Regions from separate parts of the Homo sapiens genome. Here region 2 is linked to region 1. The links are contacts of gene promoters, found by promoter capture Hi-C in blood cells and fetal thymus (Javierre and others, 2016). All regions are on one chromosome and are shown on one strand. The core of a region is centred on a gene start or on the middle of the fragment in contact, and the rest is flanking DNA. Distances in the headings are between cores, read along the strand shown. Region 1 holds the start of SORCS1 (sortilin related VPS10 domain containing receptor 1). Region 2 overlaps SORCS1 (sortilin related VPS10 domain containing receptor 1).

Region 1 (3,252 bases), core at 187-2,686:
ATATCTGATCTTCCTGGGACTGACCATGCCAGAGAACAACCGCTCATTCACGGGCTGGAAAGCCCCAGTTCTCAAAACACCCTCGCTTAGCGCTGTTAGAAGATGCTGGAGAGTTCCTGCCCTGAAACTTGCATCCACTTGGTCCCTAAAGCAGAGGATACACTAAAGAACACCTTATATACTCTCCACTGCAGTTCTCCCTTGTGGAGAAGAAGGGGTTAGGAGCTCCGCATGAAATTAAAATAAAATAAAATAAAACGCCTACATATATGGGTCTTCTTAATCTTCTTTGAGCCAGTACATAGGTCTGGCAAGTAAAGGGAAAGTCACTTGAGGGGATGTCAGCTTGCCTGGAAATTTAACCCTTTCATCTCTGTATTAGGAGAACTTTAACCCCTCTGTTTACCTGGTCTTCAGTTCCACACACCAATGCGACCAAGGCAACAGGAAATAGGGATTTGACTCCTCAGTTTGAAGCTGTGGCATTTGGAGAGGACTCTGATGGTGTTGGTGGGAGAGATGGGGAGGTTGGTCTCCTAGTAGGTGATGTTAACTCTTGGGGGAAGTGGGCAGAGACCAGTTTGCAGCATCTCCCATGTCCAGAAACCCTATTTCCCCCCAATTCTCCATCAGATCACACAGCCGACTTTAACCCTTTCCATCTTTCCACCCCTTTACCCTCAGTCCCATTCTACTCACGCTGCTGTTGTGGCCAGACCAGTGGACCATGGCTTGGTTGTGTGCTGAGTCTCCCGTCAGCGCAAACGTGGTGCTGGTCAGTCTCAGCTCCTCCATCCGGAAGCGGGTGGCTTTGTCCGGGTCCCGCTCCCGAGTCCCAGGCTCCTGCTGCCCTCCATCTCTTAGCACTCCCCGGGGGCTCCGACTCGCGCCCTCTCCCCGTTCTGCCTTCTCCTGATCCGCTCCGCTCCGTCTCCTCCGGCCGGAGCGTGCAGCAACCGCCATGGATGCCCCAGTGCCCCGAGCCCGCTCCAGGGATAGCGCTCGGTCCCCGGGGGCCACTGAGAACAGGGGACGCACTACGAGGGGCAGGGGCGTGGCAGGAGCCCTGCCTGGCCGCCCCTGGTGGGAAAAGCCCCTAGGGGTCGAGGCCGAGCGTGGAGCGGAGCTGGGGTGCGGCGAGGGGCAGCAGGAGCCGCCGCCGCAGACGCCCGGGGCGCAGAGGATCAAGAGCCCCGCGCCGGCGAGGAGCGCGCTCAGCCGGGCTTGGGAGCCGCCGCCGGCGCCAACTTTTCCCATCGCGGGAGCGAAGAGCAGCGGAGAGAGGGGTCCCAGAACGAAGGTGGCGGCACGAGCTCTGCGCTGGCGGCTGTGGGGGGCCGGCGCTCAGGACCCCAACTCCATCCAAGTTGCGCCGCGGTGGGGGCGGGCGGAGGCGGCGCCGGGCAGGTGGCGGCCGCTTGCCCGGGCTGGGCTTGTGCCGAGCGCGGGTCCGGACGGAGCGAGCCGCCGCCGCGCGGGGGTGGAGCTGAGCTGAAGTCACTGGCGGAGCGGGCGCGGGCGCTGGCGGGCGACGCGGGAGGGAGGGCAGGCGCTGCCGGGACTCCGGGCGCCGCGTCCCGCGGCCGAGCTGCGCTGCGCACCGGGTCTCCGGGCGCTGGAGGCGCCGCCGGCGACCTCCCCTCGGCCTCGCAGGCGCTGCCGCCGCCTCTCCCCGCCGCCCACTCTGCGCCCCCGCGGCCGCGGGTCCCGGCGCTGAGTCCGCGCACCCTGCCCGCGGGGGCGGTCGACCCCGGGCTCCCGGAGCAGTCGATGTGTCGGGAGCTTCCTATTCCTGCTTTATTGTTTCTATGAGTCTATGTTGCTGTTTCCTTTTTTCTCCGTCTTTCTGGTCTTTTCTAGTTGAGGAGATAGGGATGGGTGGGCTTCTGCTCCTTCCCTCTCTTATGCTTCCTGAGTTGGCATCTTGACCTTACCCGCAGCAGAGCCTGTGTGTCCCAGCCTGGGGGGAGATCCCGGAAAGGCAGCAGCAGAGAGTGATGTAATTAAATGATCTCGTGTGTGAGTGTGTGTGTGTGTGTGTGTGTGTGTGTGTTAGTTTGGGGGATTTTTTTTCCCATCAATTTTAACGCTTAGATTTCTCTCCTAACCTCCTAAAGCATTCACTGAATTTGAACCCAATCTTCCTGCATGCAATCATATTTAAGAAAACGCTTTCCACTACGCGTTTTTTAAGCGTATATATCTTGGTTTCCCTAAGAGACTGCAAACTCATTGAGGACAGGAAGATCAAATTTCGAGCAACTTGGAGGAAGTGACCTGTTTTTTGTTTACCATTTTCCTCAGTACGTGGCACAGTACCCTACATGGGAGGAAATCTGCCAGTCATTAGTTCAATAAATATTTATTGTGAGTCTAATGCATATCTGCATAACAAATAAATACAGGAAAGGAGGCACAGTACTTATAGTTATTCTGTGTCACTTGGTGCCTGGCCCAGTGCTACTGCCACATGCTTTGAGATCCCTAATAGCAAGTCTGTGATGGTGCTCTGCCACTGGTTTGCTTTGGGACCTCAGACAAATCACAATCTGTCAGCTTCCTAAGCTTTAAAATTAAATGGTCACATTAGATGACCTTTAAAATCCCTTCCGCTCCTAAAATTCTATAATTGTATGATTATAGTATCTGCCCAGCCTAGCACCCTGCTACTATTCGTAAGTTCAGATGAAGATTTATAGCAGGTGAATGGGCTTTGAAAACGGCAAAGGATTTCTCAAAATCCAATCCTTTTTAAAGTAGACAGTTTGCTTCTAAGGGTTGAAATGGTTTCAGATTTCTTTGCAGTCTTCATATACGTAATATTCTCTTAGGTACATGTTATTACATTATTTAATGAATATTTACTGATTGAATAAATGAATGACACAACAAAATAGTACCGATTCCAGTTTCTAGTTACATTTTTGTTCATTTTCATACTAGAATAATAACCTCACTGAAAAATCTGTATACCGTGTTTGCGATGAGGCCAAGTTCAAAGTAATACAGAGTGATAATTACTCTTCAATTAATGAAATTCTTTCTAATGTCCAAGAAAACGTCTGTTATATCAATCCAATCCAGAGAGGTGTTGTAAAATATCGGCCTAAGTTCTTGTTCTTACGACCAGCGCAGAAAAAGTGCAAATGCAAGGAGGGCAGGCTTCTCAGCCATTAAACTTGAGTACCTAAAAGGACCTAAAAGAGTGTCCTGTTTGTCGTTAAAGAAGAAATACAAGCAAAAGCTCCTTTA
Region 2 (3,766 bases), core at 1,004-3,503, 440 kb before region 1:
TGTAATCCCAGTACTTTGAGAGGCAGAGGCAGGCGGATCACTTGAGGTCAGGAGTTCGAGAGCAGCCTAGCCAACACGGCAAAACCCCATCTCTACCAAAAATACAAAAATTAGCCTGGTGTGGTGGTGCACGCCTGGAGTCCCAGCTCCTTGGGAGGCTGAGGCAGGAGGATGGCTTGAACCCAGGGGGCAGAGGTTGCAGTGAGCCGAGATGGTGCCAGTGCACTCCAGACTGGGTGACAGAGTGAGACTCTGTCTCAGGAAAAAAAAAAAAAAAAAATAGGAAATGAGAAAGAGATAACACAGAGATATGAAATTCGTAGTGCAGCTGATGAGACTGTAACCTGATTTTGATAAATACACTGTCAAACTTTGCCCACTACATTTGCTGACACCTTGCTACCCTGACCTCTCTGTGCTATTTACTTCCAACCTCCTCCTCTCTGTTTATTTTGTTGTTGTTGTTGTTGTTTTAACTGGAGCCTTGGTTATTGAGACAATCTCTTTCCCTCTCTTTTTTTTTTTTTTTTTTTTTTACACTGTGACAGGTCAGGTGTTATGCTTGGACCCTTTAAAACAATTGGTAGATTTTTTTTTTCCTGTTTTGTTTCGACAGGGCTAACTTTTCAAATTAAATCCTTTTATTGAATTTTCACCCTTGGATAGTTTCTGAAGATGCTGCCTTCGCAAAAAAAAAAAAAAAAAAAAAAAAAAAAAGTAAAATAAATAAAATTAGAACTGATACATTTCATGCTTTGTGAAAGCTAAGCCTGAGATGACAGTTTGGCATTATCAACCGCCATGCCTTCAGGGAGCACAGGAATAATGCTGGGTGTAAGAAAATGTGCAGATCACAGAGAGTGATGGCCTCATTGTTTTTAGGATAAAGCGTCATGTGCATTGGATGCCACAAGCCAGAAAACAGCAGCATATGCCCAAAAGCTTGAAAATGAAAGCAACCCGGGATGCTACCAATTCCATCCAGAGCTTCCTAAACTAGGGGTGCAATCATGGGAAACAGACCCTCAAGCTCTTTCACTAATTTTCTGTTGTGGAACTTTGCTACTCAAAGCATGTTTCACAGACCCGCAGCATGGATATCATCTAGGAGCTTGTTAGAAATGCAGACTCTCGGCCGGGTGCGGTGGCTCACGCCTATAATCCCAGCACTTTGGGAGGCCGAGACGGGCGGATCACGAGGTGAGGAGATCGAGACCATCCTGGCTAACACGGTGAAACCCCGTCTCTACTAAAAATACAAAAAATTAGCCGGGCGTGGTAGCGGGTGCCTGTAGTCCCAGCTACTCAGGAGGCTGAGGCAGGAGAATGGCCTGAACCTGGGAGGCGGAGCTTGCAGTGAGCCGAGATAGTGCCACTGCACTCCAGCCTGCGTGACAGAGCGAGACTCTGTCTCAAAAAAAAAAAAAAAGAAAAAAGAAATGCAGACTGTCAGGCCCCTACTGAATTACAATGCAGATCTTAACAAGGTCCCTAGGTGGGTAGCATACATGCTAAGGTTTAAGATGTGAGGCTCTAGCATTTTCAGACAACCTGGTAAGTGAGGTGAGATAGCCACTGGTAGCCCTGACAACTGGTCAGCCGGGTATGCCATCATTCAACATATGCTTAGTGAGATCTCTCTACATGTAGATGCCATGGCATGTGCTGGAGACATAATGTTTTTGTTTTGACATGGGATCTCACTATATTGCCCAGGCTGGAGTAAAGTTGCTATTCACAGTTGTGTTCACAGTGCACTACAGTCTTGAACTCCTGGGCTCAAATGATCCCCCTGCCTCAGCCTTCTGACTAGCTGGGACTACAGATGTGTGCTACCATTCCTGGCTCTGGAGACACAATACTGAATATGATATACATGGTCCCTGCTCTCATAAAACTTACAGACTGGTGGCGAGAAACGGTTGTGATCGAATAAACACGTAAAAAGAAAGTATAATTTCAAACAGAGAAGAACATGATAAAGAAAAAAAATAGTTGTATAAAAGCAATCAAAATAAGAAACTCATTTAGACTGAGAGTTTACGAGAGGCTTTTCTAAGAAATAGGCGATTAACCTGAGGTCTCAACCATCCACAGTAATCAATTATGCTCGATTGGTCAGGGTATGGGCAAGAAAGAAGGGTATTCCAGATAGAGAAAACAGCATGTACCAAGGCTTTATGGCAAGACACATACCCCTGTATGTTCCAAGAATTGAAAACCCGCCTAAAGGCCTGCAGGCAACGAGTGAGGAGAGGGCAGACTAAGATTAGGCTGAGGGAATGGGCAGACACAAGTTATGCTGGAGCTATAGGTCAAGATGAGAATTTAGCTCTTTATCATCAAAGCAATGGGAAGTAAGCAAGACTTTTTTTTTTTGAGACGGAGTCTGGCTCTGTCGCCAGGCTGGAGAGCAGTGGTGCGATCTCAGCTCACTGCAACCTCCGCCTCCTGGGTTCAAGTGATTATCCTGCCTCCACCTCCCAAGTCGCTGGGACAACAGGCACGCACCACCACACTCAGCTAATTTTTGTATTTTTAGTAGAGATGGGGTCTCACCATGTTGGCCAGGATGGTCTCTATCTCCAGTAAGCAAGACTTTTAAACAATGATGTGTTTACTTTTGCATTAAGAAAATATTGATCTGTTATGTAGCAAGAACTGGACCTTGGAATCCAAGATAACATCATCTGCTCCAGGGAAATGGAGACGTCACCACCAGAGCGAGCCCCCTGAGGAGGTGGGAAAGCTGCTCTGACCTGTTGAGCTCATTCTGTGTCAGGCACAGTGCTGGGCATGTTACATGTGGCAGCTTTGCCTGGGTTACAGAGGATGATGGTCAGCCTTGATCCCTAACCTGTGCCCCAACTGACTCTGTCAAAAAATATATTCACTCCCCCAAAAGGGAAACAAACCTTTAGAGATGAGAAATCTCATGGTACATGCATAGTAATGAAAAATGTGTGGTTTCTGGGGAGTTTGGGTTATAGGGTTGACCTGCTTTGTTTGGCTGTAAGCTGGTAAAGTGCAGGACCTTCTGCCTTTGTGTTCAGAAGAGCCAAGGACTGGTAGGCACAAACGGCAGTGATTAGGGTGCTTTTGAATTGTGAGGGATATTTTAGAAACTGGGAAGGTCTTGGAAATGAGATGGTCACTCTCTGGGCCAGCGCTGGGTAGCCTACAACAGCCTCATTGCTCTGTGGTAATTGTGGATAGTCCATTCTCTTCCTCTCCTCTACATCTGAGACCTCTTCCTTTCTCCCTGTCTTTTCTCCCCTCACCCTCTTCTATATACAGTTTCCCCCTTTTCTCATTTTCTTTTACCCCCTCACCTGGAGTGCTCTATCCTAGGCCTAGCGGTACCCCTGCAAATGCTTAGCCCTTCTGAGGATCCTCTGTACCAGAGAAGGGGAAGGAAACATTCATTGCTGGTGTTAGTAGGTCAGGCACTGTGTGAAGTATTGTATATGCATGGGTTTCTTGAATTCTCACCTGAATAGGCTCTGTGAGATAGACATCACTGTCCTCTACTTATTTACCATATTAGCTTAGCTATATTATTACTTAAGCTTTCTATGCCTTTGCTTCTTCATATGTGAAATGAGAAAAACAACCTACAACATTGTCATGAGGCTACAAAGTGTAGTCCTGTCCTTCACTGCAGCATAACCACCCGGAGTTGATAAGAACTACTGACAGGTGAGCAATTCACTCAACTGACTCTCCTCCTGCTGCCTCTCATGGGGACACACAGAAAAATTCTCTC

The links. Contacts are between HindIII fragments. The CHiCAGO score rates a contact against its expected background, and 5 or more counts as called.
Region 2: a fragment that was not itself captured here is called in contact with the fragment with the promoter of SORCS1 in region 1 in 1 of 17 cell types (erythroblasts); the score reaches 5.8 in erythroblasts.

Annotation. Positions count from the first base shown.
Region 1 is chr10:107,163,270-107,166,521 of GRCh38, forward strand. SORCS1 (sortilin related VPS10 domain containing receptor 1) reads right to left here and starts at 1,437. Exons shown (of 26, transcript NM_052918.5): 1 at 700-1,437. The coding sequence starts at 1,257. RefSeq lists a silencer at 1,153-1,346. The HindIII fragment of the contact is 2,762 bases long and covers 1-2,563 here.
Region 2 is chr10:106,725,672-106,729,437 of GRCh38, forward strand. The region is part of intron 6 of SORCS1 (sortilin related VPS10 domain containing receptor 1); the gene reads right to left. Among named protein-coding and RNA genes, the nearest start is that of SORCS1, 440 kb to the right of the region's middle. The HindIII fragment of the contact is 2,627 bases long and covers 941-3,567 here.